6 separate regions of the Homo sapiens genome follow, and regions 2, 3, 4, 5 and 6 are each linked to region 1. The links are contacts of gene promoters, found by promoter capture Hi-C in blood cells and fetal thymus (Javierre and others, 2016). All regions are on one chromosome and are shown on one strand. The core of a region is centred on a gene start or on the middle of the fragment in contact, and the rest is flanking DNA. Distances in the headings are between cores, read along the strand shown.

Region 1 (2,576 bases), core at 23-2,522:
TACAAAGAATGTGTGTGCCAAACATGAGGGATAGACGAATAAGTACAGGTCACACTGAATCTAAAAAAGACACTTTTCAAGAGGGAACTTCCTCAAGGAGATAGTACCTGAATTGATGGGGCGGCATGGAGATGGCTGATTATTCCAGGCAGAAGGGCCAGTTTGAGCAAAAGCATGGAGGAATGAAACAATAGTATTCTGTTTTCAGAAGCTGTATATATTTGACACAATATACACATAATCAAAACATGTGTACGCCGTAAACACAATTTTTGTCAATTATACCTTAATAAAGAAGGAGGAAAAAGGGCCTTCACTAGCCCAAATGATGCCCCTGTGCGGTTTTTTCTTTAAAGGCACCTCTTCCGTTAAGTGAAAGTTTTAGTATATTATCACATCTGTACAGTTTTATTATTAAACCCCAGTACACAATATTTTAATGTTGAGAGATGGTGTAAACTGAGCTTTAGAGCTGCAAAGACCTGCGTCAAGCCCCCGCCCCCGCCCCCGCCCCCGGGCACTCATCGTCCAGCACAACAATTGCAACAACACCTGGGCGTTCTCTGCCCATGTAGCGAGGTCAAGGTCCTGGGAGCCGAACTCTCCCTTGATGTTCAATCTTTTTAAATCTTTCCCAGCCTTTATTTCTCATCTGCAAAATGACGATAATCGCATTTGAAATTCTCCGTTTTCAAAATGCAGGAATTTATTAAAGGATACGTAGGCTGGGGAAACAAGGGAGACGAAAGATCTAAATCTAAATGGTAGACCAGAAAAAGGAAGGCAAGGGTGTCTGGAAACACAAAACAGTCAACATAGATTTTAAGACTCATCTATACTCTCTTCTTCCCGGGTTTGGGAACTGCGGTTGCTACACAGGTCACATTTGAAATAAAAGTCCTGGGACGGCGGCCGGCGCGACACTCTCCCCCGCACAGCGCAGGCTCTCACTGGGAATCTGCCGGGACCGCAGTTGCCAAGGCGACTCCGCGCTGCAGGGCGAGGCGGCCATCCGTCTGTGCCCGCCCCCTCACGCCGTGGCGCGCTCTCACGCTTCCCCGCCTCCGGGCGCTCCGCGGTGCCGACCATTGGCTGGCTCTGCAGGTCTCACTATCCTCACTCCATCCGCGGAGCCAATGGCTGGGACCGCCAGGAGCTCGTTCGCGCGAGTCACACGATGTCGGCAACTGCACAGACCAATCACCGCGCCGAGAAGGCGGGGCGGGAGCTCTCGCAGGCCAATAACGACAGGACGGGCCGCCTGGCCCACCCGGCTCCACCCCCAAGCCAGGCGAGGCAGGTTCCGAGGTTGGAACACCTGGCGAGTCCTCGGTGTCGGTGGCCGGCAGTCATCTCGCGGCCGTTCAGGTGAGGGGGTTGGAGGAGTGGCTCATGAGCGAGGAAGGGGGAGCAGGCGGGCTCCCACCCGGTGCTCCGTGAGATCGAGGGGAGCGGGTTCTGGGTGCGGATGCACGCGCTGGGCGGGACGCTGGCAGTGGTACCCGAGACGGGGCGGAAGGAGACTGGAGTGAAGGTGGGCCTAGGCTAAGGTACGTGCTAGAAAGGATGAAAACGGAGTGAAATTCTTAAGTGATGGAACTAGGCTAGGGCATGTTTCTTGCCCTTTAAAATGTGTTGTCTTCGGGAGACAGGACGTAGAAGATAGTTGCAGCACAGGGTGATAGGCTGGCGAAAGTTATACAAAAGCAGGAACCACTAGAAGGAGGTAAGATGTAGTGTGCTTTGGGAGTAGTGGGGTTGGGAAGGGCGTCCGAGAGGAGGTTACTGAAGGATGACTAGGAGTTGAATGGGAGGACATCACCTGTAAGGGAACGATATTTCCGTGGGCAGAGAGGAATGAAGCAGTAGCAACCATGAGTGATCAGATACTGCAAAAATGTGAAGTGTAGGATGGCGAGAATGTAAGAAATGAAGAGTGAAGAAGTCTGGAAGGGCCTCGTGTGCATCAATCACAGCGGGGCTTGATCTTTATGCTTAGGGCAAGCACTCCCTTGAACTTTGAGTGTTTTAAGGAGGTTATCTCTGATGTTTAAATTTATATAGATCGTGGCATTGCATCTTAGAAATAAGGTTTAGGAAGGGCAAGCTTGGAGGCAGGGCAAGTCCAGAAAATGAAGGAGCTGGTGAAATCCGTGTTAAAGTGCCAAAGGACAGAGACTGGCTGACAGCTAAACTTCAAGGTTTCTGAGAATCCACAAATAACTAAATTTATCTAGTCAACCTGTTCCAGAACAGGCTTCCAGTCATTTAGGTTGCCCAAGAATGAGTAAAGGAAAAGGAAATTCAATTTTCCAAGACCTTGTTTCCCCTCTCCTCTTTAATTCCTTGTTCGGTTAGCAACAGTATATCCATTCCCTCGCTCCTTTGTGAAAAGTAAATTCCTGAATGTTAACTAAACCAAGTGTTTCTAAATTGGGTAAGAGTTTGAAGACTTAAGGCAGCAGAATGGGAGAGACTTAAAACGTTATGTCTGAGAATTAGGCATTAAAGGAGGCCTAGTATTTGGGCGGGGGTTGTGAGGAGCACATACTGAACCTTTGGACCTGTTGAGTGAG
Region 2 (2,576 bases), core at 47-2,546, 3.0 Mb after region 1:
TTCGCCAAATAATTTTCAGGAATTTAACCAAGGTGGCAGGGTCTTATACTTATGCATGAACCAATGGTCCATCGCCTTTTTAAAGCTCCTTTATGAGTATTTGCATGTCTTGAATGAGTATCCCAAATGAATCTCTGCAGAGGAGGATATCATCAATGTATCGTACCTGTGCTTCTGGAGAAGGGTAGAAGCAGTTAAGATCTTGTCTGCAAAGACTGTGTGCAACAGAAGGCTGCTGAGGTATATCCACGGATGGCCTGGTAGAGGCGTATTATGTCCCTTCAGAAGTGAAGCCAAACTGCAGTCAAGAGGCTGGTGAAATACACACCGAACAGAAAATGTTAGTGAAATCTATTATAGCAGATTTTTTTAAAAAACAAATTTCTGGTTGGATAGAATCAGTAACTTTTTTTTGAGCATTATGTATGAGAGCCTTAAAGGGGCCCACAGCATTAAGTTTGTGAGGAGCCATTCATTCTTTCAAGGTTTAAGAACACGGCAAATAGGGCTGTTACCCACTGTTACCATATTGTTTTAGTTTTGATTTTTCTCTGACTCCAATGTGATTGTTTCAAGAGCTTTACCTGACATGTGGCTTTGTAAGAAAATTCAATGCTACTTATTTCTCCAGCTACAATAGGTTTCTACAAAGCCCAGATAATTGCATGCTTTCTTAAAATTAGGATGCCAACAATTTTTATTTTTTACAAAGAGAGTTCATTCTCTATTAATTTTGTTTAGGTTTGAATTGTGTAGTCATAACTTCAGTATTAAATTTATAAATCAGAAATAAACCTATGGTATTAATAAATTCATATGTGTATCTATGAAAAAGTGATTATGTCAATAACAATTTATTTACAGAAACAAAGGAAACATTTCCTCATTTAAGAATACATTCAAACAAAACCACAGATGCACGTATAAAATTAAAATGAGTACACTCCATCTGTGATATATCTGCCACAGGCTTTTTCAACACCAGTTGACTGGTCAGTGAGAGGAAACATTGGGGTCTAAGAATATGCCAGTTCCATAGAAATTCTTTCCCCAAATAGTCGTGAACAAACTGCTTGGCCAACAGATACACAACAGACCTCAGGATTTTAAGTTGCAGAGCAACTGTCTTCAGTGGTTGGCATTTCTTAAATACTTAAATCCTTCTTTGGTTCAACAGCTGATTTCCTCCTTTGTCATATTCTTTCCTATTTGTTTTCCCAGGGAGTGACAGCCACGTCTTTCCACATTAGACTTCTTGGGTAAGCAGCTTCTGAAATTGTCCCACAGCAGTCCATAGCTGTCCAGCGGTGACCTCTTTGCTTGCAAGTTGGATATCCCTTTTGACAAATATCTCTATGAGGCATGTATAATGTAAACTTTAAGAGAAACAAAACACTGTGCATTTTTAATTATGTCAAATAAGTCTTAAAGCCATTTTAAATGTTCAATTATTTCGGTAGATTACCCTTTTCCCTTTAGTGGAGAAAAATAAATAAAATAATGTAGAAAATCAAACTGTTTCAACTAGTCAATATGTTATCCTTTATTTCAACACAATTTAAAACATTAAAGCCTTCAGCCATAGAAAAGATGCTTACATTTTTAAATAATGCCTTAATAGTGTAAATGCAAATAAATAATTTCTTCTTCTTTCCATTAGCATTCAGTAATGAGTTTTTACTGTGCTATATCACTTTAAATGGTCCCTATGACCATTTAAAAATTTCATTTATTTCCTTAGCCATCCCACAAATTAAGAGATTTATGTTGTTTCCAATTATTAGTTATTATAAATAACAGGATGAATATGATTTTATACATGTCCTCAGAGTAAAGTAGAATAGGTCAAAGGATATGAACATTTTAAAGCGTGAATATTTTATTTTATTTTATTTTAATTTTATTTCATTTTGAGACGGAGTCTCACTCTATCACCCAGGCTGTAATGCAGTGGTACGATCTCGGCTCACTGCAATCTCCGCCTCCCAGGTTCAAGCGATTCTCCTGCCTTAGCCTCCCGAGTAGCTGGAATTACAGACACCCGCCATCACACCCGGCTAATTTTTGTATTTTTAGTAGAGACTGGGTTTCTCCCTGTTGGCCAGGCTGGTCTGGAACCCCTGACCTCAGGTGATCCGCCTGCCTCGGCCTCCCAAATTGCTGGGATTACAGGCATGAGCCACCTCGCCCAGCCTAAAGCATGAACATTTAAAAGTGTGAACATTTAAAGTGTGAAGAAACTGGTACACTTAGAAATGAATCCAAAGATTTGCAAATCTACAGACAATAGATGGCCTGGAATATAGGACACCTTGTTTCAGGGATTTAAAATCAATTAGGGTCACCTTTAGTGCTCTGGGTAAAAATATACTAAGTTCATATGTACATATTTTTTTAAGCCACTATATCACTTCTCGGCCTTTGGCTAAGATCAAGTGTTTAAAGTCACTATGTTTTGTAGTAATTTCTTACCCAGCAATAGATAATTGACATACATTTTGATTTGGGATTTTGGAAGCAGAGCACATCCAAGTGCAGCTGTGAAACTGAAGGACTGAAGATGAATAGAGGTGAGG
Region 3 (2,576 bases), core at 20-2,519, 3.0 Mb after region 1:
AAAGTCAGTGTAATTGGAATAAGGTCTAAAGTTTAGTTAATAGGATTGACACAATGTTAATTTCCTGGTTTTCATAAATGTTCCGTGGTTATTTAAGATGTTAACATTAGGAGAAGCTGGATGAGAAGTACATGAGAACTCTGTATGATTTTTGCAACTTTTCTATAACTAAAAACTTAGTTCAAATACAAAGCTTTTTAAAATGTTTTGTTACCTCTTCCGTAATATTATTCCATTTTAAACTTCCAAAAAGAGGTGCTAATGCTGAAAGCTTAAATCTTTCCAACTGGTTAAGCAGGGTTGTATAAGCATCTTTAATGTTCTGCTTATTCTGTAAAATAAAGAAAAATCAGAAAAGTTGTTATAAATAAAATATGTAATTATTTTCCAACTATAGAAAATTACATATTTTAGATATAATTATGTTACGATATATTTCTAAGGAAAAAAATATGCCAATGTAATTGTAAGTTTTAAACCCCATTGAACATCACTATTTTGTCTTTGAAAGTTAATTTTTGCCTAGGAATATAGCGTATTTTGTTTTTTAACAGCTTCATAAAAGTATAATTAACATAACATAAAATTCCTTCATTTTGTTACAATTCAATGGCTGTTAGTAAATTTATCAACTTTGGAACCAATATCACAATCTAATTTTAGAACACTTCCAGCACCCTCCAAAACACCGTCATCCCCATTTAATGCCATATATTTTAACAAATTTCAAACATACACATGAATGAAAGATAGCATAACCCCCCTTTCAGGTACCTATCACCCAGCAGCAGCCATTTTAAATATGCATTGTATTTTCAATTGTATTTCACATAATCCTCAAATTGACTAATAACATAACTTCTTTAAGGTGAATATTCAACAAATTAGGAAATAGATTTTAACAAAAATAAAATCCTTCATTAAAAAAATTATTCAGCCGGGCTCGGTGGCTCACACCTGTAATCCTAGCACTTTGGGAGGCAGAGGCAGGCAGATCACGAGGTCAGGAGATCGAGACCATCCTGGCTAACACGGTGAAACCCCATCTCTACTAAAAATGCAAAAAATTAGCCGGGCATGGTGGCAGGTGCCTGTAGTCCCAGCTGCTCAGGAGGCTGAGGTAGGAGAATGGCGAGAACCCGGGAGGCGGAGCTTGCAGTGAGCTGAGATCACACCACTGCACTCCAGCCTGGGCGACAGAGCGAGACTCTGTCTCCAAAAAAAAAAAAAAATACTCTTAAGGAAAGATTCGACAGTGTGTAGGTACTGTTAAAACTCAGATTTAGAAATTGCTCTAACAGAGTAAAATGAGAAAATTAATAACAGTACTTCCTTCCAATATAAAAATGAATCCCAGGGCTATTCCTGCTCAGAGTAGGCAACCAGAATTGAAAATAGTTTAATAATAGTCAAGAGCCACATAACAATGTTTCTTTCAGCCACAGACCACTTATATGTTGGTGATCCCATAAGATTATAATGGAGCTGAAAAATTTCTACTGCCTAGTGATGTCATAGTGATGTCATAACACCACAGTGCAATGCACTACTCAAGTGTTCATGAGGCTGGTGTAAACACACTTACTGTGCTGCCAGGCATATAAAAGTACAGCATAGGCTGGGCGTGGTGGCTCACGTCTGTAATCCCAGCACTTTGGGAGGCCAAGACGGGCAGATCATGAGGTCAGGAGTTCGAGACCAGACTGGCCAACATAGTGAAACCCCGTCTCTACTAAAAACACAAAAATTGGCCCAGCATGGTGGTGCATGCCTGTAGTCTCAGCTACTTGGGAGGCTGAGGCAGGAGAATCGCTCAAACCCAGGAGGCAGAGGTTGTGGTGAGCTGAGATCGCACCACAGCACTCCAGCCTGGGCAACAGAGCAAGGCTCTGTCTCCAAAAAAACAACAATAAAAAAAGTACAGCATATACAATTATGTACAGTATATAATACTTGATCATGATAAAAATGACTGCTACTGACTTATGACTTACTGTACTATGCGAATTTTTTATTATTATTTCAGAGTATACTCTTTTCACTTGTATTTTTAAAACAGCTGCCAAACAGCCTCAGGAGGCCCTTAAGGAGCTATTCCAGAAGAAGGCATTGTTATCATAGAAGATGACAGCTCCATGTGTGTTACTGCCCCTGAAGACTTTCCAGTGGGACAAGATCTGGAGGTGGAAGACAGTTGATGTTGATGATCCTGACCCTGTGTATGCCTAGGCTAATGTGTGTGTTTGCATCTTTTTTTCTTTTAAGAAAAAAGCTTAAAAAGTACATATTTTAACAGAAAAAAAGCTGACAGAATAATGATAAAAAGAAAGAAAGGCCAGGCACAGTGATTCACACTTGTAATCTCAGCATTTTGGGAGGCTGAGGCAGTCAGATTGGTTGAGCCCCAGAGCTTGAGACCAGCCTGGGCAACATGGCAAAACCTTGTCTCTACAAAAAATACAAAAATTAGCTAGGCATGGTGGTGCGCACCTGTAATCCCAGCCACTCGACAGGCTGAGGCGGCAGGATCACTTGAGCCCGAGACGTGGAAGCTGCAGTGAGCTGTGATCACATCA
Region 4 (2,576 bases), core at 22-2,521, 2.9 Mb after region 1:
AGTCTATGCCACATGGCAAGAAATTTCATATAGTAGACAATAAAATAATGGTAATAGTAAAATTCAAGTTATACACAGTTGGCCGGGCATGGTGGCTCATGCCTGTAATCTCAGCACTTTGGGAGGCCGAGGTGGGCAGATCACCTGAAGTCAGGAGTTCGAGACCAGCCTGGACAACACAGTGACACAGAATTCAAAAATGAGCTGGGCGTGGTGGCACATGCCTGTAATCCCAGCTTGGGAGACTGAGGCAGGAGAATTGCTTGAACCTGGGAGGTGGAGGTTGCAGTGAGCTGAGATTGCACCACTGAACTCCAGCCTGGGCGACAGAGTAAAACTCCATCGCCCTTCAAAAAAAAAAAATTATACACAGTTGTCAGGCATTATTCTCAGTGACTTCAGTATGTTAACTCATTTAGTACTCACAACAATCCTATGAAGAAGGCACTATTAATATTAATATTTCTATTAATATCCTTATTGCCAGATTCAGTGACCTGCCCAAGAGCCCACAGTTTATATGTGGCAGAGTCTGGCCTGCAGGCCCCTGTTCTCAAATCCTGTTTTTAACTGACATATGTTGCTTCTCTTTTTACATTAATGCAAGTTACTGGGGCCTAGGAATATATTACTTTTTAAAATAGTGTCACTTTCATCATAGCACTTCATTTTTAAAAAACTCTTGTTCAAAGATCACTTAGAAATAATGTTGCCTCTTAAATCTCTCTGATAACCTACATTTTATGTCAACCAAAACAAAACCAAAGAAAAAATATCTCCAAATATGTTGACTATATTTGGAATTAGAAATGAGAATTATAACCCAAGATGCACAGCTATGGCAAGCCACATATGTATCTGAAGGGAGGAAGATAAAAGGAAGCTTGTACTGGCAAAAGGGGAAGTTCACATAAGCTGCTTAGAAACACAGTTCTTTGGTTTTGGAGACGCAAAACCAGAGCTGGCATCAATTTATCGGTGGAGATGCCATTACTGGGTGGGTGTTCTTTCAAGGGCATCTTATCTGAATTGCTTCAGCAGTAAATAAAGAACTGCCTGTGGGATTATTTTAGAAAGTCCTTGAGACAGTTTATCTCAGCCATGCAAGCATGAACAACCCGCCTTCATGCTCTCTCAGCTCCAGTCTGTTTGGATCTGACAAAAAGGGATCATCCTGGTATACAAGAATGAATGCGACCTAGAGATTAGACCTTATTCAATAACATTTTTGTAGCACTGTACTAAGTGCTTTCATAACTTATGTTTATTTAATTCTCACTCCAATCCTTTGTACTATTATTCTGATCATCTCATTTTGCAAATAAGTAAATTAAGGCTTAAAGTCATTAAGTAGCTGTCCAGAAATAACACAATTCATGGGGGCAGAGGTGGGATCCAAGTTTGGGTCTGGCCATGAAGTGTGTGCCCTTAAGCACACACTGCCATTGCCATCAAACACTGAATATGCTCCATGTATTTTTTTTTTAAGAGATCAGACTGCAAAAGGCTTAAGGGTACACTACTATTTGAAAAGCTCCTAGAGGTAAAACTTGAGCCCAGAAAAATCCTCAGATCTCTTGATGATCTGGGATCAAATTGTGTAATACCAAGGATGTTCACAGTTTATTTTGTAGAGAATTCAAGAGTCATATAAACATGCCAAGCTTCAATTCTTCAAGTATAATTAAACTTTTGATGTTTTCTGAAATATTTTAGTTTTAAAATATTTTAAGTATGTGAAGGATTTTGGAACATGCTACTCCCAAAATATACCACTCTGGCATATTAACTATTTTGAGTTGAAAGCACTAGAAAAAACAGCAGGGTCAAGAAGATCACTCTGATCTTCTTTCTTTTTCTTAAAAGTAGCAGATTAAATGCCCACAAAAATATGTTTTCATACCCGAAGGACAGTAACACTCCTATCTTCAAAGATGGGAACTTGAAGACAAGGGAAATCTATACTAAAAAACCTTGTTAAACTAACTCTTACCTTCCTAGTCACATCTTCACCCAAGTTACCCTAGCCTACACCCCTTTACTTTGTCACATTTTTCACAATTTACCACTCTTTGTCCAATTCACTATGTAAGTGTCCAACTCTAACTGCATCGTTGGGTTTTCAACTCCTTATGGAGCCTTCTGCACCATATAAAACATACTACATACATGTGCATGCTTTTCTATTGATTTGTCTTATATCAGTCTAATTCTGAGGCCCAGGTAAAAAAGCCTAAGGTGGTAGAAGTAAAATTTTGCCTCCCCTATATTTGTATGAAGGTATGAATAATAAACAGATATTTTTCAGTTTCTGTTTTGCAGTGAGGCTTTCAGAAATATCCCAGAGGTACAGAATTACTTTTGTTTCTAATTACAGTCTATAGCCACACTTGAAAGTGAAATGGGTGAGCTTTGTAAATCCTTGGCAGTGCAGAAATGTATTTTCCTTATCCCAACAACAAAGATAAAAGGAGTAATATTATTGCAATCCCCCAAATTTGCAAACACAATCTTACATTCACCCATCATCGTTATTTCAGAAATATATCATCAATGATTCATCCCTATATGTCTGT
Region 5 (2,576 bases), core at 43-2,542, 2.2 Mb before region 1:
CTATATCTAGCTCTGGGATTGTAAACACGCCAATCAGCACCCTGTGTTTAGCTCAAGGTTTGTAAGTGCACCAATCGACACTCTGTATCTAGCTGCTCTGGTGGGGCCTTGGAGAACCTTTATGTCTAGCTCAGGGATTGTAAATACACCAATCGGCACTCTGTATCTAGCTCAAGGTTTGTAAACACACCAATCAGCACCCTGTGTTTAGCTCAAGGTTTGTGAATGCACCAATCGACACTCTGTATCTAGCTGCTCTGGTGGGGCCTTGGAGAACTGGTGTGTCAAAACTCTGTATCTAACTAATCTGATGGGGACATGGAGAACCTTTGTATCTAGCTCAGGGATTGTAAACCCACCAATCAGCGCCCTGACAAAACAGGCCACTCGGCTCTACCAATCAGCAGGATGTGGGTGGGGCCAGATAAGAGAATAAAAGCAGGCTGCCCCAGCCAGCATTGGCAACCCGCTCGGGTCCCCTTCCACACCGTGGAAGCTTTGTTCTTTCGCTCTTTGCAATAAATCTTGCTACTGCTCACTCTTTGGGTCCACACTGCTTTTATGAGCCATAACACTCACCGCGAAGATCTGCAGCTTCACTCCTGAAGCCAGCGAGACCACGAGCCCACTGGGAGGAACAAACAACTCCAGACATGCCGCCTTAAGAGCTGTAACACTCACCGCGAAGGTCTGCAGCTTCACTCCTGAGCCAGCAAGACCACGAACCCACCAGAAGGAAGAAACTCCGAACACATCTGAACATCAGAAGGAACAAACTCCAGACGCACCACCTTAAGAGCTGTAACACTCACCGCGAAGGTCTGCGGCTTCATTCTTGAAGTCAGTGAGACCAAGAACCTACCAATTCCGGACACACTAGTACTCTGTAATATAGGAACGTACAGTTTCCTGTGCATTCCTAAAAAAGGCCAGTGATGGCATTAAGTTGCCTCTTGATAGTAACAACTCTACCTATAAAAGTGATGCACATGAAGTCTCGCCCCAAATACTCCACAAAACATAAAAGGTATATAAAAACTAAATAGTATATACAAAATATGTAAGAGGTAAGTGAAACCATCCTTGTATAATTCCAGGTTAAGATCCTGTTATAGAGTCTGCCTTTGAAAGTACAGTTAAATGAAGCAGTATATATTAATTTTGAAAAAGGCACATATGTGGAGGTCTGAATTAAGGGAAAACAGATCTATTTGTTTCTTTTAAATGAGCATGCTAAGAGAGGAGGACAGGCCAGGAATGGTGGCTCATGCCTGTAATCCCAGCACTTTGGGAGGCCAAGGCAGGCGGATCCTGAGGTCAGGAGTCTGAGACCAGCCTGGCCAACATGATGAAATCCCATCTCTACTAAAAATACAAAAATTAGCCAGGCATGGTGGCAGGCACCTGTAATCCCAGCTACTCAGGAGGCTGAGGCAGGAGAATCACTTGAACCTGGGAGATGGAGGTTGCAGTGAGCAGAGATCGCACCATTGCACTCCAGCCTGGGCGACAGAGCAAAAGACTCCATCTCAGAAAACAAAACAAAAACAAAAAAAAAAAAACAGAGCGAGAGAGGAGAACAAAGAGGAAAAATAACTCAAACGCCAACAGGAAGGCACCCAAGAGATGTGCTTTCCATGAAAATTTTTGGCAGGTTCAGAGAGAACTTTAGAAGGTTCAAAGGGGATAGATCTCTGAAAGGTACAAAAAGCGATTTCCTTTGGCAGCCATGTCAGACAAGGTAATATAAGATTTTTGTTTTGATGTATGAATGCCAAATGTCACCATCTCTTTTTCAACTAGCAAATTTAATCTACTGTATCACTACCAAGCCTAGTCATTCTTTATCAAACTATCCTGCTGCTTTGCTTTTTTCTAAACACATTGTTGTCCAATATTTCTGTATTTACTTAATGTCTATTTCTCTAACTACACAATAAATCCAACCATAACTAAGACCTTTTTAGTCCCAATCATAACGAGGACCCAGTCTTGCTCATTGCTATAGCACCCAAAAAGATGGCTAGCACATAGTAGGTATTTAGTATTAATATATATCTATTAGATGAACTAACCTACCTCTTCAGTCCAAGCTTAGCAAAAATCTCAAAAGTCAGTCTTTGTCTGAGCAGAAATCAGATAATGAAAATATAACCCGATATAGAATCCTCAAAGAATGAAAAAGACTTGAACCTAATCTTCTCAAAAATAAAATTTAAAAGCCAGGCTTCCAAGGAAGCTTAACTGCCTAGGATTGATGCATAGGTACCTCTGGGTTGCAGTAGCAAACATTATTACAATTATTAGATTAACACTTGGCTCCCTGAAAACACACCTGCTGCCCCTCCTAAGATAATGAATAAATCTCCTCAGATATAAAATCTCCTTTAAGGAAATAAAAATCAATCACTTTGCTTTTCCACGTTTCAGGGAAGGGTGTATATGTGTGACAGAGAAGAGAAACACAGACACACTCCAATAAAGGGGAAAATACGGCCAGAAAACATACTGTGGGACATTACCACTCTGGCAGTGCACAGAAGATACAAAGAATTAGATGTAAAAGGCATACTAAT
Region 6 (2,576 bases), core at 50-2,549, 2.2 Mb before region 1:
ATGGGAGAAGTCACCTCTAGGAAAGCTGGTTAAACAGGACCACCCAACCACTGCCTCACTGACAATGACAAAAGGCTTTACAATGCGTGTGATACTTGAGCTGGACTTTTAAAGAGAACCATGAATTTGTTAATCTGAGAAAACAGGAGACCTTCACAGGGGATAATAAATAAGATCATTGTAATTTCCTGCTTAATTATTTATAAACTCTAAATATTTGTAAGCACACTTAGAATAAAATTCAGACTCCCTGCTTTGGCTTTCAACAGTCTACCTGATCTGGCCACTACTTACCTCTCCAGTTTCTATCTCCTACCGTCTTCCCCACCCTTGTTTCACATGAGCACTGGTCTTGATCTCCCTTCAACTCACCAAGTTAATTCTTCACGTGTGACATTTTCACTTTTCTGTTCTCTCTTCTCTTCATATTAACGTGGCCTTTTTACTCATTTATGGTTCTACTCAAACACTACACCTAAGAGAGAGCTTTCCAGACCACCCAATCTAAGTGCACCCCTCAATACCAATCACTTCCTAGCTTATAGCTCACTGTTTTTATTTAAATAGTATTTATCTTCACATGAAATTATATTTATTTACTTCTTTATTGTCTGTTTTTTCATAAAATTAAGTCTCAGGTGCCCAGGATCTTTGTCTAATTCACAGCTGTTTCTCTAAGTGCCTGGAAACAGAATAAATCCTATAAGGATTTTTGAATGGATGAATGAAAGAAAGAAAGAATAAAGCTCAATGGGACAATCAGAGTAAGGAATATGACTTAACAGATAATATCTGTTATTCTTTCAATTTAAATTAATCTGATGATATCTAAGAAAGGCTACTGTTTTTAAATAAAAGTCTTTTGTTTGTGTGGTGGAAATGTTTCTGTGTTTCAACATAATGATAGTGGTACCTATGCCTAGCTTTGAAGTAGGTCAGTGTTTCACAAATGGTAATTTTTCTAAGTGCTTGTTTCAGAATGTCCTGAATTTACCTACTTCCACAGCCTTCCTCTCAACCGCATTATTTCTAACAGTTGCTAAACTTAGCCTGAAGTCTTTAACCTAAGACTAAATCCAAAAAAACACCTTGGAAGACTGTGTAGCTTACAGGGTCACTATTAACGTTATGAGAGAATTTACCTTGAATTAAATTACAATTTAAATGGCATATTACATTTCAAAGGGAGCACGTAAAACTTAAATTATTTCTATAAATGTCACTGATTGATCTTAGTCTATTTCAATGTTTAAAAATACATGAATAGACACATTTACATTTCCAGAAACCTACAATGCACTTGCTAGATAAAAATGATGAGATTTTCTAATATATATCACAAAATGATTAAAAGCAGGTTATGTGACTGTTTGGGTGAGTTGCTATTCCTATTTATATATTGTAGCACTAATTTAAGTCAAGGTCATATGTTTGCATTGCCAACTAGTGTAGTAGGGAAAAGAGAGGTATAAGTGCTATTTTAACTCAAAATGGACTGAAACTCTACTGGACTCATTTGAGAGTATGGACAGAAATTATAGATTAGAGACTAGGCATCTCTTGCCACCTAGTCTCCTCTCACACTCAGCTTGTAAGAGAGTGACTTATCAGATAAGAGAGTGACATCTGACTGGTGATCTTGGGAAAAGGAACTGAGCATACTTGGTCCAGTATCTTTGTGTTATAGGAGATAGAAATTATTTAGGTAGAGAGTTAGGGTGAGTCCCAGGCAGAAAACTTTCCTTCTAACAAAAAGCAGCTCAGAAATAGCTCCCTTTTTAACCTCAATCAGTTCAAAGAAATCACTTCCTTTCTAACAAAGAGCAGCCTGGACGCTCAGGCTGTAAAACACATATAAGCAACTAAGGCACAGAGTGGGGAGTTTCCTGGGTAATCACCAAACTTCACATACATACAATGGGTCCCAGTAAAAACAGTGGGCCTTCATAAGCATATCTCTTTCTCTTTCTTTAGGCATACTAAGACAGGGAAGCTGGAAGTAGGCACAGGTGAGATACCTGCAGCTGCAAGAAGGTGCCTGGGAATAGGCACAGACACTCTTCCCTCCCTTTTAGCACACACAAACAGCACAGAGCAGCATAAACTAAGAGTGTACCCACATGATCAAAGAATGGGGTGGGGGCTGATAGAGACCCTGCTCTATGCAGATAGCACACCTGGTCCTAACCATTTGTTCGGGCCCTAGGAAGATAAGTCACACCCTCCTTACTAGCCCATTTATAAAAAACTGACATTTTTTACTACAACTTGGCAACCTGTTTGGGACCCCTCTCCGTGACCGAGAGCTGTTCTTTTCTTTTGCCGAATAAACTCCTGCTCCAGTCTCACTCTCTGTGGTTATGTGTTCATGTTCTTGATTTCCTCAGCTGTGAGACCAAGAACCTTGGTATTTACCCCAGACGATGAGGCCATTTTATACTTGGGGACCCATCCGGGATTTGAAGGTAAATTTATCGGCAGGATGAGTATAGGAGCGGACTCTATACTTTAATTTCCGAGGCTTCTCATCCTCAGTTTTTATTCTCTCAACTATCAAAAACCCAGGCATTTGACAG

What was found. The method cuts DNA at HindIII sites, captures the fragments that hold promoters and counts their contacts. A CHiCAGO score of 5 or more calls a contact.
Region 2: a contact is called between a fragment that was not itself captured here and the fragment with the promoter of MSMO1 in region 1, in 2 of 17 cell types (total CD4 T cells and activated CD4 T cells). The highest score is 8.2, in total CD4 T cells.
Region 3: a fragment that was not itself captured here is called in contact with the fragment with the promoter of MSMO1 in region 1 in 2 of 17 cell types (total CD8 T cells and naive CD8 T cells); the score reaches 12.0 in total CD8 T cells.
Region 4: a contact is called between a fragment that was not itself captured here and the fragment with the promoter of MSMO1 in region 1, in 1 of 17 cell types (erythroblasts). The highest score is 9.3, in erythroblasts.
Region 5: a fragment that was not itself captured here is called in contact with the fragment with the promoter of MSMO1 in region 1 in 1 of 17 cell types (total B cells); the score reaches 6.3 in total B cells.
Region 6: a fragment that was not itself captured here is called in contact with the fragment with the promoter of MSMO1 in region 1 in 10 of 17 cell types (non-activated CD4 T cells, total CD4 T cells, total CD8 T cells and 7 more); the score reaches 23.3 in non-activated CD4 T cells.

The regions. Positions count from the first base shown.
Region 1 is chr4:165,326,397-165,328,972 of GRCh38, forward strand. MSMO1 (methylsterol monooxygenase 1) reads left to right here and starts at 1,273. Exons shown (of 6, transcript NM_006745.5): 1 at 1,273-1,368. RefSeq lists a silencer at 872-1,211 and an enhancer at 1,302-1,571. The HindIII fragment of the contact is 2,277 bases long and covers 1-2,105 here.
Region 2 is chr4:168,324,673-168,327,248 of GRCh38, forward strand. It overlaps a transcript of DDX60 not described here. Among named protein-coding and RNA genes, the nearest start is that of DDX60, 7.2 kb to the left of the region's middle. The HindIII fragment of the contact is 9,534 bases long and covers 1-2,576 here.
Region 3 is chr4:168,302,086-168,304,661 of GRCh38, forward strand. DDX60 (DExD/H-box helicase 60) reads right to left here. Exons shown (of 38, transcript NM_017631.6): 6 at 215-331. Among named protein-coding and RNA genes, the nearest start is that of DDX60, 15 kb to the right of the region's middle. The HindIII fragment of the contact is 2,001 bases long and covers 270-2,270 here.
Region 4 is chr4:168,256,963-168,259,538 of GRCh38, forward strand. The region is part of intron 25 of DDX60 (DExD/H-box helicase 60); the gene reads right to left. Among named protein-coding and RNA genes, the nearest start is that of DDX60, 61 kb to the right of the region's middle. The HindIII fragment of the contact is 781 bases long and covers 882-1,662 here.
Region 5 is chr4:163,153,342-163,155,917 of GRCh38, forward strand. The region is part of intron 2 of NAF1 (nuclear assembly factor 1 ribonucleoprotein); the gene reads right to left. Among named protein-coding and RNA genes, the nearest start is that of NAF1, 12 kb to the right of the region's middle. The HindIII fragment of the contact is 1,597 bases long and covers 495-2,091 here.
Region 6 is chr4:163,169,894-163,172,469 of GRCh38, forward strand. It overlaps LOC105377517 (a long non-coding RNA gene), which reads left to right and starts at 2,383. Exons shown (of 3, transcript XR_939414.2): 1 at 2,383-2,465. The HindIII fragment of the contact is 3,131 bases long and covers 1-2,576 here.